5 separate regions of the Homo sapiens genome follow, and all the other regions are linked to region 3. Evidence: promoter capture Hi-C in human tissues and cell types (Jung and others, 2019). All regions are on one chromosome and are shown on one strand. The core of a region is centred on a gene start or on the middle of the fragment in contact, and the rest is flanking DNA. Distances in the headings are between cores, read along the strand shown.

Region 1 (2,700 bases), core at 30-2,529, 510 kb after region 3:
CAGTGGCAAGATCCTTTTGATAGCCACTAAGTTCAAACATTTTTCCAAGGACAGAGGATGCCTGCAGGTGCTTGTCCTCACCCTTGTGAAGAGATAGCATCCTGTTCAGAAAACAAAACAGGCGCCTCTACTTGAATTTAGTTAAATTTGTCATCTGCATATGTGGTACTCAAGGCATAGCCATCCCCTTAATAAGCAATAGAGAAAATCTGCTCTCCAGGCTTACCAGAGAGGTCAACATTTATTTGGCCATTGCTACTTCTTCCCAGAGCCTTCCTGAGCAAACTGATATTTGACAGAGATGGAATTAGAGGAATGCAATCTATCCATTCTTCCAGGCAGCCTAAGCTCTGTCAAGTTAGATATCTGGCCCTTAACACTGTGGTCATGGTCCACTGGGGTGGGGCAAAAGGCCTGAAGACCTTCCTGGTTTTAGGAGTAACAGTGAAGTGGACCAATTCATGGCCTATCGCAAGGTCCTCATGGCCATGGACTGCACCTTAGAATACCTGAAGTGGATGATGTGAAAACTCTGTTACCTGTGGCTTCCCCTATCTTCTTATCTTCCACCTTCAAGATGAAATGCCTTTGCTAAATTATCTTAGACATATTGATGTTATACCTTCAGTTCTCATGAAGAGAGAATATAAGAAATGGTAACATGAAGAATATCATGACAAATTTGCACTCAGGAAGACACTACACTGTCCATCATATTTTCTCTTTGTATAAGAACAAATACAGGAAATTTCTTTAAAAATTTAAAACCAGAAAAATATATTTATTTAAATTAAAATTTTGTTTTCAAAGAGAAATAAATAATGTACTGGCAGCCAAGAAGCTCAGAGTTGAGGTCAATACTCAATTACAAAAACTCTATTAGCCATGGGATGTATAAAATATGTATCCTCCCTACCAGCACATTGTTTTCTCCTTATATTGTAATATCCTGCTAATGAAATGCCTTTTATCAAGATATCTCAAATCCTTTTTGGGAGTAGATGCGTTGTGCACTAAAAAAATTCAAGTGGGACGATAAACACGAAGCTTTAAGAATATATTATACTTTAAAAGACCATATAATATAGTGGCTAAAAGCCATACTACTTGGCTTTTAAATTGCAACCCAGACATTCCTGACTTTGGTCAAGGTCTTAGTCTCTCTCTGATTAGCTTCCTTACCTGTAAAGTGCAGCAAACAACAGTTCCTCCATATAGGGTTATTTTGAGGAACAAATGTATTGGAGGAATAAATGAAGCACTTAGAATAGTAAGCACTAAACATGGTTTGCTCACGGGCTAATGTTAAACTCTATTAGTATACAGTACGATCAAAACGTCCTATCCTATTAGGCTTTGGTACTTTGTCTATTCCAATGCAACATACAATGCTTACCTACTGTGGCAGATGCTGACGACAGCAGAGATTTGCCCCAGGATCCCCAGCCTGCCCATCCTCCTCCACTTGGAGGGGAATCCACAGCCTGGAGAAAAACAAATTAGCCACAGGTCAGAAATTCAGTATATCTCTGAATGGAAAAACACCTATTGGTTTGAAACAAAGAGGAGGTTTGGAAAAGAATCACCAACAACCGTATCTAATTGGCTTATAGTTTATAAGGGTCATAAAAGAATATCCCAAACCACACTGCAATGTGTACTTTGGAACCAAATTGATTAGTGCTGATGTTGGCTTCTGAAGGCTTGGTTTGAAGTGAGAAGGGAGTTTGATGTTAACTGAGCCTCGATTCTCTCTTATTATTTAGAAGACAGGGAAAAGGCTGCATGGGAAAAAGATACGCATGAGGGCACAAGAGGGATTTGAAAAAGTTCAAAATGATCTGGACCCAGGCAATTCTTACAGGGCTTAAAAAATGTGCTCTTCAAGGTAGAGTTAACTTTTAAACTCTGGGGCAGTAGGCAGGTGCTTTGGCATGGATGATGGGCAAAGTGTCTAAAAAGCGTCAATACACCTGGCGATGGATGGGCAGTAGTGACAGGAAGGCTTGCAAGGTAGAAACCTTTGATTCAAGGTGCCCTGCTTCACTCATAGTGACTCCTATAACACAGGGATAAGACTGTCCCTGACCTCAGTGGATTCCAATTCGTTTGCCTAGGTTTTTGGAATTGGAACTGAGAGACTGTGGTTCAGTGTGAACTGTGTGCATGAACAGAAGTTGAAAACTCAGGCTATGTGGATGACCCTGTTATATCCACCACGCAGACTAAGAATTAAGAGAAGGCAGAGTGAGCAGAATGGAGACTGGCTTAGAGCTGCTGTTTGGATTCCTGACAGCTTCTCAGTCCCTGGTTTCTGTCCCTCTGAAGGCCCTGCTGCTTTCTGATCTTTGGGTTCTATGAGATTCTCTCATATTCTTGTTCATTTTTTTAAATGTTTTATTCACTGATATACTCTCAGAGCTTAGAAGAGTGCTTGGAATATAATGAATGCTTAATAAATATTTGTTGAATAAATGGCTGAAACTCATCCATTTTCTCAGGTATGCGTGTTTCTGTTACTTGCAACCAATGAGTCCTAACTCAAGTAGGGAACCACAGCTTTCTCTTTCTATCTGGGAACACATTCTAGAAAACAAGGCAAGAATAAATATTCTATGAGTTACCTGTATGGAGAATCATAGCTCTTTTTTACTCAAAAGAGAAGAAGGAAGGAAGGAAAGAAGGAAGGGCGGGCAGAAA
Region 2 (2,700 bases), core at 100-2,599, 530 kb before region 3:
AGGCGTGAGCCACTTTGCCCAGCCGCAGTAAAGCTATTTAAAAAAAATTTTTTTTTTCATTTTAGGTTTTGAGAAAGGGTCTCACTCTGTCGCCCAGGCTGGACTGCAGTGGTGTGATCAGAGGTCATTACAGCCTCACCCTCCTAGGTTCAAGCGATCCTCCCATCTCATTCTCTTGAGTAGCTGGGACTACAGGCGCATGTCTCCATGCACAGCTAATTTTTATTTATTATTATTGGTAGAGATGAGGTCTTGTTATGTTGCCCAGGTTGGTCTCCAACACTTGGGCTCAAGCGATTTTCCTGCCTCGCCCTCCCAAAGTGTGATTACGGGCATGAGCCACTGTACAATGTACAACTATAGCTCAGCCATAGCCTTGATCTAGGCTCAAGCCATCCTCTTGCCTCAGCCTCCCAAGTAGCTGGGACTACAGGTATTGGCCAACATGACTGGCTTTTTTCTAGTTTTACTTTTTCAATTTTATATGGCTAGAATCATACTATATGGTTCCTTGTGTTACTGTGTCTTCAGTGTTATGTTTGAGTTTTGTATTATTGCTTTTTTTTTTTAGATGGAGTCTCGCTGTGTTGCCAGGCTGGAGTGCGGTGGTGTGATCTTGGCTCACTGCAACCTCGGACTCCCTGGTTCAAGCGATTCTTCTGCCTCAGCCTCCTGAGTAGCTGGAATTACAGGCATGCGCCACCACGCCCAGCTAATTTTTGTATTTTTAGTAGAGATGGGGTTTCACCATGTTGGCCAGGATGGTCTTGATCTCCTGACCTTGTGATCCATCGGCCTCAGCCTCCCAAAGTGCTGGGATTACAGGCATGAGCTACTGCGCCTGGCCTAACTTATATAGTATTTCATTATACAGTTTAATCAGTCTTCTATTGACATTTTTCACTTGTAGTTTTTTGGCTTTTACAAACCACATTGCTGTTGTTAAAATAAAAACTTCAGACATATATATATATGTATTTTTTGAGACAGAGTCTTGCTCTGTCACCCCGGCTGGAGTGCAGTGGCACGATCTTGGCTCACTACAACCTCCGCCTCCCGGTTCAAGTGATTCTCCTGCCTCAGCCTCCCGAGTAGCTGGGATTACAGGCACCTGCCACCACGCCTGGCTGATTTTTGTATTTTTAGTAGAGATGGGTTTTCACCATGTTGGCCAGGCTGGTCTTCAACTCCTGACCTCGGGTGATCCACCCACCTCGGCCTCCCAAAGTGCTAGGATTACAGGTGTGAGCCACCGTGCCCGGCCCAGACACATTAAATTTAACAGAATTTAATTGAGCAAAGAATGATTCACAAACTGGGCAGCCCCCTCCAAACTTGAGTAGGTTCAGAACAGTTCCAGAGCTGCCAAGTGGTCAGATAACATTTATGGACAGAAAAAGGAAAGTGATATACAGAAAACGAAAGTGAGGTATAGAAATAGGTGAATTGGTTACAGCTCAGTGTTTGCCTTATTTGATCACGGTTTGAACAGTCAGCCACCTGTGATTGGCCACAATTCTGTGTGATTGGTAGGAGAGTAGGTTACAGTCTTTTTACAATCTGGTTAGGTACAGCTCACTATGTATGGAGAATCCTTTAGGCTGAATTTATGCAAGGAAGCAGCTTTAGGCTAAACTTAACACTCCAGTCATCCTTGTATACATACTCTAGCTGCTTTAGGGCACCACCAGAGGTGAAATTGTTGAATCATTGGGCATGTATGTCTTCTACTTAACTGAAAGCAGCAAAGTGGTTCTACCAATTTACATTTCAATTAAAAAGTGAGTGAGAGTTCTCATTTGCTATGTTGGACTTACAAAAAGTTCATTTGGCTGGACACAGTGGCTTACACCACTTTGGGAAGTCAAGGCAGGAGAATCACCTGAGGCCAAGAGTTGGAGACCAGCCTAGGCAACATAACAAGACCCCATCTCTACCAATAATAATAAATAAAAATTAGTTGCACATGGTGGCATTCGTCTGTGGTCCCAGCTACTCAGGAGACCGAGGCAGGAGGATCACTTGAGCCAGGGAGGTTGAGGCTGTTGTAATCCCTGATCACACCACTGCAGTCCAGCCTGGGCGACAAAGTGAGAACCTTTCTCAAAAAATAAAATTAAAAAAAATTTTTAATAGCTGTATTGAGGTGTAATTGAATTACTGAACAATAATTTGGACATATTTAAATTATATGACATATAATAATCGATCTGATCTTTGTTCTGATTCTTGGCACAGAGCCTCAAAAACCCTTGGAATTTCCCAAGTGAGAGTGTCTTTGTTACGCTAATGAGGCAGCTCCTGGCAGTGCCACTAGATAGCTTCAGGATGGGGCTGGTCACTTAAATTAGAGGATTGAAACTTTCTCCCAGGAGAAGAGGGAGGCTGGAGATTGAGTTCAGTCTTGATTTTATCATTCATGCCTGCGTCATAAAGCCCAGTGAATCCTGTGAACACTAAAGCTCAGGGGAGGTTAGTGGTTGGTGAACACAGTGATATGCTGGGAGGATTACATGTCCAGATTCAATGAGAAGAGTATACGAAGCTCTGTGTCCCCATCCCATCCACACACCCCTCTTCACCCCCAAGACTTTGGCTGATGTGTCTCTTCAGTTTGACTGTTCTTGAGTTACATACTTTTCTTCCACCTTGTTATTTTCTGTTTCTTTCTTTTTCCTTCTAGCTCACAGCACCTGGTAT
Region 3 (2,700 bases), core at 99-2,598:
AGTGAAGTATATTTAAATTTCTGTATTTAATATGCATGAGTTAGCTAACATTTATTTGGCTTACTTATTTACTTACTTTATTTACTTATTAGCTAAGTTAGCTATACTTAACAACAAATACATATTTGAAATGGTTGTGCCTTAAGATAATTCTGAAATGATTGCATGTTGTCAGAAAAGGGTTCCAACAATTAAATTTATGAAGCACTGTTTTCCCACAGAATGAAAGTAAGCTCATATATTCACACTGTAGTGTATAATGGTAGATTTAAAAATAGCCTCAAAGTGCAACTTTTGAAAAAACTAATTGGATTAATACATTAAAAATACCTTAGATAAATAAAACATACACTAACTTAAATGCAAAATTTGAGGATAGATCTTTTGAATTAGCTTAAAATCAGTTGCCTTGATTTCAGTGAAGAGAATTACTGAGGCAGAAGGTAAATTCTTAAATTCTTAGTGTTTTCTGAAGCTATAAGAAGAAGCTAGCTGTACAGTACCTTGATCAAGTTGTGTCCCACAGTGTAGACAGCTGCTAAATTTCCCTTCTCTCCAGGGGCATGCATACCTGTCCCATACCCATGCCAAGCCACTAGATATGGGTTGTGAATTGTAATCCAATATTTGACACGGTCCCCAAACATCTGGAAACAGTATGTGGCATAGTCATTGAAGATATCTATTATGGTATCATTTTTCCACCCCCCATATTTTTCTTGTAGTGCCAAAGGCAAATCCCAGTGGTATAAAGTAACTATAGGTTCAATGTTTCTAAGCACTAGAGCGTCCAGAAGAGTACTGTAGTACTGCAGACCTTTTGCGTTGGCAACTGTTACTATTCCATCGGGGAAAAGCCTTGGCCAGGAAATTGAAAATTGATAAAAAGAAACTCCTATAAAATCCAGGGCTGATAAGTCTTTTTCCAGAAAAATATAACTGTCACTGGAACCATTCGTGCTGCTGACATTTTTAAGGTGTGTGTGGATGAAATGATCCCATATAGAAGGTCCTTTTCCATCCTTCTTCCAACTCCCTTCCACTTGCAATGCTCCAGTCCCAATACCCCAGAAAAAGTTTTTAGGGAAAGTGTCATAGAGAAACAGCTGACTTTCATTTACCGGAGTAAAATTAGGATTTTTAGACCATATAGCTCTTCCATCTCCAGAGAATCCAGTAACAGCTCGTAGCAGAATAAGTGCTGACAGGATGACAGATCTTTGCAATCCCCCGTTGGACATTGTATTCCTATAGCGTGTGGTTATTTCATCAGTGCTGAAGAAAATCCATTCATTCCCTGGAGATCCTGCCGCACAGCCTGGCTTCATTTGCCACCAACTGCTGGACTGTCTTATCAAAGCTTCAGTAAAAGCTTGTGATTGTAAAGCTCTGTCAATGATTAGCTTGAACTGGGAGACTGAGGATGGGTCATAGAGAGCAACGTAATTTGAGGGAGGTGGCCCTATTGCAGTCACCAACGCGTCTCCTTCTCTCTCATTATGGAAAAAATTAGATGAAAATGCATCGGTGACAAGAGTTTGAATGTGTAACTAACACATATGTAAACACTGGATTAAAATCACATTATTTTCCGTGTAGCCTTTCATATTGACCCAAATCTTTTCTGAATGTTTTGAACATTATTGAATAAGGTATATAGCTTTTCTATTTTTAGAGTTTTTGTGTGGTAATTTTATAATCTCATATATCAAGAAAAATAACATATACAAGTATATAGCATTCCTACATACCAATAGTAAAGAATTAGAAAACACAATAAGAAATTACACTTCTCCACAAAATTATAACGCATCTAAGAACAATCTTAATAAATGTTACCTATTTTAGGAAAATTGCAAAAATGTATTGGTAGATTTGAGAGAAGACTTGAATGAGAAAATATAGCACTTTGTGGATGGAAAAATGAAATACTTTTCAATTTAATACATTTAACTTAACTAAAATCCTCTAATCTCTAATTTTATTTTTTATTTTATTTATTTAACTTAACTAAAATTCTCTAATCTCTAATTTTTTAATTAATTAATTAATTTTTAATAAGAGTCTTGCTTTGTAGCCTAGGCTGGAGTGCAGTGGTGTCATCACAGCTCACCGCAGCCTCAACTTCCCAGGCTTAAGCAATCCTCCCTCCTCAGCCTCCAAGTAGCTGGGACAACAGGCACATGCCACCATGCCCAGCTGATTTTTGATTTTTTGGTAGAGGTGGGGTCTAGCTATGTCCCCCAGGCTGGTCCTGAACTCCTGGGCTCAAACAGCCCTTCTGCCTCGGCCTCCTAAAGTGCTTGGGATTATAGGTGTGAGCCACCATGCCTGGCCTAATCCCAAATTTTAGTTCAAGAAAATTATTACGAAAGGCCAGGCACAGTGATTCATGGCTATAATCCCACCACTTTGGGAGGCCAAGGCAGGCAGATCACTTGGGGTCAGGAGTTTGAGACCAGCCTAGCCAACATGTTGAAACCCCGTCTCTATTAAAAATACAATTAGCTGGGCACGGTGGTGGGCACCTGTAATCCCAGCTACCTGGGAGGCTGAGGCAGGAGAATCTCTTGAACCTGGGACGTGGAGGTTGTAGTGAGCTGAGATCGCACCACCGCACTCCAGCCTGGGCAACAGAGCAAGACTCGGTCTCAAAATAAAAAAAAAAAAAAAAAGAGAAAATTATTATGAAAGTTCCCT
Region 4 (2,700 bases), core at 62-2,561, 550 kb before region 3:
CCTAAGATTCATGAAGATTGAGTCAGTGTAGATAAAGAGAATACTTTGTTTCTGGCAGAAGTTATTTAGAAAATGTCTTTTGGCTGGGTGAGGTGGCTCACGCCTGTAATCCCAGCACTTTGGGAGGCTGAGGCAAGGCAGATCACTTGAGGCCAGGAGTTTGAGACTAGCGCGGGCAACATGGCAAAACCTCTTCTCTACAAAAAATACAAAAATTAGCTGGATGTGGTGCAGGCGCCTATAGTCCTGCCCACTCTGGAGGCTGAGGCAGGAGGATTGTTTAAGCCAAGGAGATTAAGTGTACAGTGAACCATAATTGTGCCGCAGCACTCCAGCCTGGGTGACAGAGTGAGAACCTGTCTCCAAAAAAAAAAAAGTAAGAAAATCTGTCTTTCTTCTTGAAGCATATACCTATAAAGCTTTGAAGAAAGGGTAAAAACCAGGTAGTAATAAAATAAAATTGTCTTTAGATGTTTTTGAAATAATGTTGTATAGCTTTGTTTGCTGTGTTCAGTTCTCATATTTCCTTGATATTTTATCAGACTTTTTTTTTTTTTTTTTTTGAGACAGTCTCGCTCTGTCACCCAGGCTAGAGTGCAGTGGCGCAATCTTGGCTCACTGCAACTTCTGCCTCCTGGGTTCAAGCGATCCTCCCACCTCAGCCTCCCAAGTAGCTGGGACTACAGGCATGAGCCACCATACCTGGCTAATTTTTGTATTTTTTGGTAAACATAGGGTTTCAGCATGTTGGCCGGGCTAGTCTCCAACTCTTGATCTCAAGTGATTTGCCTGCCATAGCCTCCCAAAAGTGCTGGGATTACAGGTGTGAGCCATCGCACCCTGCCAAATGTTTAATACTGTAATCCACTGCTGCTATCTCAATTGTTCTATACGTTTTTCTTATACTGTTTTTTAAAATTGTTCTTTTTTTTTTTTGAGAGGCAGTCTCAGTCTGTTTCTTAAGCTGGAGTGCAGTGGCGAGATCGCAGCTCACTGCAACCTCTGCCTCCCATGTTCAAGCAATCCTCCCACGTCAGCCTCCCGAGCAGCTGGGACTACAGGTGTGTGCCACCACCATGTCTGGCTAATTTTTGTATTTTTAGTAGAGATGGGGTTTCGCCATGTTGGCCAGGCTGGTCTCGAACTCCTGACCTCAGGTAATCCACCTGCCTTGGCCCCCCAAAGTGCTGTGATTACAGGTGTGAACCACCACACCGGCCTTAACTGTTCAAATTTTTAAACAGACTTTTTTTTTTAGGGCAGTTTTAGGTTCACAGCCAAATTGCTGGAATGTACAGAGTATTCCCAACAAACCCCCTGGACTCACTCCTCAGTAACACTCCCGTCCCCCAGGAAGACTTCCCCTCCCCAGTCACACATGCCTCCCACAGTAATGCCTCCCCTCAGTCACCTTCCAGAGTGGTACATTTGTTTGTTTTGTTGTTGTTTTTTTATGACAGAGTCTCGCTCTGTCACCCGGGCTGGAGCACAGTAGCATGATCTCAGCTCACTGCAACCTCCGCTCCCCCGGGTTCAAGCAGTTCTCCCACCTCAGCCTCCCAAGCTGGGATTACAAGCATCCGCCACGACACCTGGGTAATTTTTTGTATTTTTGGTAGAGACGGGGTTTCACCATGTTGGTCAGGCTGGTCTCGAACTCCTGATTTCAGGTGATCTGCCCACCTCAGCCTCCCAAAGTGCTGGGATTACAGGTTTGAGCCACCACGCCCGGCCCTAGAGTGCTATATTTCTAAACCAACATCACAACATTATCACTCAAAGTCCATATTCGTGTATTGTTTCCTTGTATATTTTTCAGCATGGTAAATCCCAAATGTTCTATTCATGTAATGCTCTTGGTTTAAACTCTAAGTTAGATTTAGCATATTGTCCTTTAATATTCCTAATTTTGGCTTTTCTTGTTTGGCCAGGGTGAGCTCTAAGTGCTGATTTACTTTAAATCCTGATGATAATCAGCATGCTTTATTTATTTATTTATATTTTTTGTTTGTGACAGGGTCTCGCTCTGTCACCCAGGCTGGCTGGCGTTCAGTTTCATGATCATGGCTCACTGCTGCCTCCACCTCCTGGGTTCAAGCCATCCTCCCATCTCAGCCTCCCAAGTAGTAGAGACTACAGGCATGTGCTACCACGCCTAGCTAATTTTTGTATTGTTTGTAGACACGGGGTTTGTCATGTTGCCCAGGTCTCAAACTCCTGGACTCACGTGATCCTCCTGCCTCAGCCTCCCAAAGTGTTCATGCCTATTAACAGGCATGAGGCTCTCTGCCTGGCCTCATAGTTATTTTAACGTCTCTGTCTGATAGCTTTAGCGTTTGGTCCACCTCTGTTTCTGTTTTTTTTTTTTTTTTTTTTTTTTTTTACTTATCTCTTGACAATGGGTACTTATTTATGTCTTGACAATGTATTTCAGGCTGGGCACGGTGGCTAACACCTGTAATCCCAGCACTTTGAGAGGCCAAGGCGGGTGGATCACCTGAGGTCAGGAGTTCAAGACCAGCCTGGCCATCATGGTGAAACCCCACCTCTACTAAAATAATACAAAAATTAGCCGAGGGTGGTGGCACATGCCCGTAATCCCAGCTACTCAGGAGGCCGAGGCAGGAGACTCGCTTGAACCTGGGAGGTGGAGGTTGCAGTGAGCTGAGATCGTGGCATGTTTTGTTTTTTTAAGAGACA
Region 5 (2,700 bases), core at 93-2,592, 530 kb after region 3:
AAAGACTCTAGAAGGAATCAGGCTGCCAGCAACTTGACTTTAGCCCATGGACACTGATTTCAGACTTCTGACCTCCAGAACTCCAAGAGAATAAGTCTGTGTTGGCAAAAGCCGTGAAGTTAGTTGTAATTTGTCACAGCACTGATAGGAAGCTAACAGAAACCTACAGGGCTATCTTTAAACTTTCCTGGAGCTCTTACTTGGCATGAAAGACTACGCCTATGGGAACTAAGAGTAATACCTGTATCTTTAAAATTATTGACTCTGGCTTTATTAATTATATTTGTAGCAATAATGAGAATAAGCATAGGAAGGCAGGGTGCAATGGCTCACACCTGTAATCCCAGCACTTTGGTAGGCTGAGGTGGGTGAATCACATGAGGCCAGGAGTTCAAGACCAGCCAAGGCCAACATGGTGAAACCCTGTCTCTACTAAAAATACAAAAATTAGCTGGGCATGGTGGCATGCACCTGTAGTCCCAGCTACTTAGGAGGCTGAGGCACAATAATTGCTTGAACCTGGGGGGTGGAGGTTGCAGTGAGCTGAGATCGTGTCACTGCACTCCAGCCTGGGCGACAAAGCGAGACCGTCTCAAAAAAAAAAAAAAAAAAAAGAAAAAAGAATAAGTCTAGAAAATACCTGAGCACTTATCAAAAAAAATACTTGCCATTTAGCTTTGTAACATCTTTGTCAGAAATTCACAGTGAGAAAGAGACCTATACACACACAGTATTCCTTGTTGGGGACCAGCTGATGAAGGTCTAGACCATGGTTTAGTCAAGGATAAACTTAAAGGGTAAGAAGTGAGGTAGAAACCAAATAAGGAATGTAGCCATTAAAGCAGAAAACTCTTTTAAAGCTTACAAATTATTGATATCATGTAGAACAGCACTATTCAATGGAACTTTCGGTGGTGATAAAAATGTTCTGTCTCAACAAACTAAGCATTGAAGGAACATATCTCAAAGTAATAAGAGCCTTTTATGACAAACCCACAGCTAACATCATACCGAAGGGGCAAAAACTGGAAGCATTCCCCTTAGGAACCAGAACAAGACGAGGATACCCACTCTTACTACTTCTATTCAACACAATAGTGGAAGTCCTAGCCAGAGCAATCAGACAAGAGAACGAAATAAAATAGGAAGAGAGGAAGACAAACTATCTTTGCAGATGATATGATTCTACACCTAGAAAATCCCATAGTCTCTGCCCAAAGGCTCCTAGATCTGATAAACAACTTCAGCAAAGTTTCAAGATACAAAATCAATGTACAAAAATCAGTAGCATTTCTATACACCAATAATGTCCAAGCTGACGGTGAAATCAAGAATGCAATTCCATTCACAATAGCCACAAAAAGAACAAAATACGTAGGAATACAGCTAATCAGGGAGATGAAAGAGCTCCACAATGAGAATTACAAAACAATGCTCAAAGAAATCAGAGATGACACAAATGGAAAAATTTTCCATGCTCATGGATAGGAAGAATCATTATTGTTAAAATGGCCATACTACCCAAAGCAATGTACAGATTCAATGCTATTCTTATCAAACTACCAATGATGTTTTTCATAGAATTAGAAAAAAATATTCTAAAATTCATGTGGAACCAAAAAAGGGCCCAAATAGACAAAGCATTCCTAAGCAAAAAGAACAAAGCTGGAGACATCACACTACCCAACTTCAAACTATACTACAAGGTTATAGTAACCAAAACACCATGGTACTGGCACAAAAATAAAACACATAAGCCAACAGAACAGAATAGAGAACTCTGAAATAAAGCCACACACCTAAACCATCTGATCTTTGACAAAGCCAACAATGACAAACAATGGGGAACGGACTCCCTATTCAATAAATTGTGCTGGGATAACTGGCCAGCCATATGCAGAAGATTGAAACTGTTCCCCTTCCTTATACCATATACAAAAATAAACTCAAGATGGACTAAAGACTTAAATGTAAAACCCAAAACTATAAAAACTCTAGAAGAAAACCTAGGAACATAGGAAACACTATCCTGGATATCGGCCCTGGCAAAGATTTCATGACAAAGACTCCAAAAGCAATTGCAGCAAAAACAAAAATTGACAAGTGGGAGCTAATTAAACAAAAGAGCTTCTACACAGCAAAAGAAACTACCAACAGAATAAATAGACAACTTACATAATGGCAGAAAATATTTGCAACTATGCATGTGACAAAGGTCTAATATCCAGAATCTGTAAGGAACTTAAATCAACAAGCAAAAAACAAAACAAAAACCATTAAAAAATGGGCAAATGACATAAATAGGTACTTCTCAAAAGAAAACATATAGGTGGCCAACAAGCATATGAAAAAATGCACACCACCACTAATCATTAGAGAAATGCAAATAAAAACCATAATGAGACACCATCTCACACATAGATTTTCCCAATAACTCAGAGCTGTCATTTACCACGCTTTCACCCTCTCAAGAATATATAGTATCAACAGCTATCATTTATTGAGTGCTTACTGTATCCATGCTCTTTAAATGTATTATCTCCTGTGAGTTGAATGTTATCAGCTCCATTTTACAGACGAGGAAACTGAAGCTCAGAAGTCACACTTTTAGTAAATTCTACATTTGAAATTTGAACCCGTGTCTGACTTTGAGACTGAACCACATCAGAGCCCTATCAGCAATGCCATCTGCCTCTTTTC

Evidence for each region. The method cuts DNA at HindIII sites, captures the fragments that hold promoters and counts their contacts. A contact is called where the count stands out against the background at its distance.
Region 1: a contact is called between a fragment that was not itself captured here and the fragment with the promoter of KLB in region 3, in 1 of the 25 tissues and cell types used here (liver).
Region 2: a fragment that was not itself captured here is called in contact with the fragment with the promoter of KLB in region 3 in 2 of the 25 tissues and cell types used here (dorsolateral prefrontal cortex and heart right ventricle).
Region 4: a fragment that was not itself captured here is called in contact with the fragment with the promoter of KLB in region 3 in 1 of the 25 tissues and cell types used here (stomach).
Region 5: a contact is called between a fragment that was not itself captured here and the fragment with the promoter of KLB in region 3, in 1 of the 25 tissues and cell types used here (lymphoblastoid cells).

The regions. Positions count from the first base shown.
Region 1 is chr4:38,890,527-38,893,226 of GRCh38, reverse strand. FAM114A1 (family with sequence similarity 114 member A1) reads right to left here. Exons shown (of 15, transcript NM_138389.4): 4 at 1,397-1,484. Among named protein-coding and RNA genes, the nearest start is that of MIR574, 24 kb to the right of the region's middle. RefSeq lists an enhancer at 2,115-2,284. The HindIII fragment of the contact is 5,098 bases long and covers 1-2,700 here.
Region 2 is chr4:39,936,837-39,939,536 of GRCh38, reverse strand. All of the region lies in intron 2 of PDS5A (PDS5 cohesin associated factor A), which reads left to right. It also overlaps the pseudogene RNA5SP159. Among named protein-coding and RNA genes, the nearest start is that of PDS5A, 40 kb to the left of the region's middle. The HindIII fragment of the contact is 6,528 bases long and covers 1-2,700 here.
Region 3 is chr4:39,405,578-39,408,277 of GRCh38, reverse strand. It overlaps KLB (klotho beta), which reads right to left and starts at 1,348. Exons shown (of 5, transcript NM_175737.4): 1 at 504-1,348. The coding sequence starts at 1,328. The HindIII fragment of the contact is 19,436 bases long and covers 515-2,700 here.
Region 4 is chr4:39,954,354-39,957,053 of GRCh38, reverse strand. The region is part of intron 2 of PDS5A (PDS5 cohesin associated factor A); the gene reads left to right. Among named protein-coding and RNA genes, the nearest start is that of PDS5A, 22 kb to the left of the region's middle. The HindIII fragment of the contact is 7,115 bases long and covers 1-2,700 here.
Region 5 is chr4:38,874,084-38,876,783 of GRCh38, reverse strand. All of the region lies in intron 2 of FAM114A1 (family with sequence similarity 114 member A1), which reads right to left. Among named protein-coding and RNA genes, the nearest start is that of MIR574, 7.4 kb to the right of the region's middle. The HindIII fragment of the contact is 3,064 bases long and covers 1-2,700 here.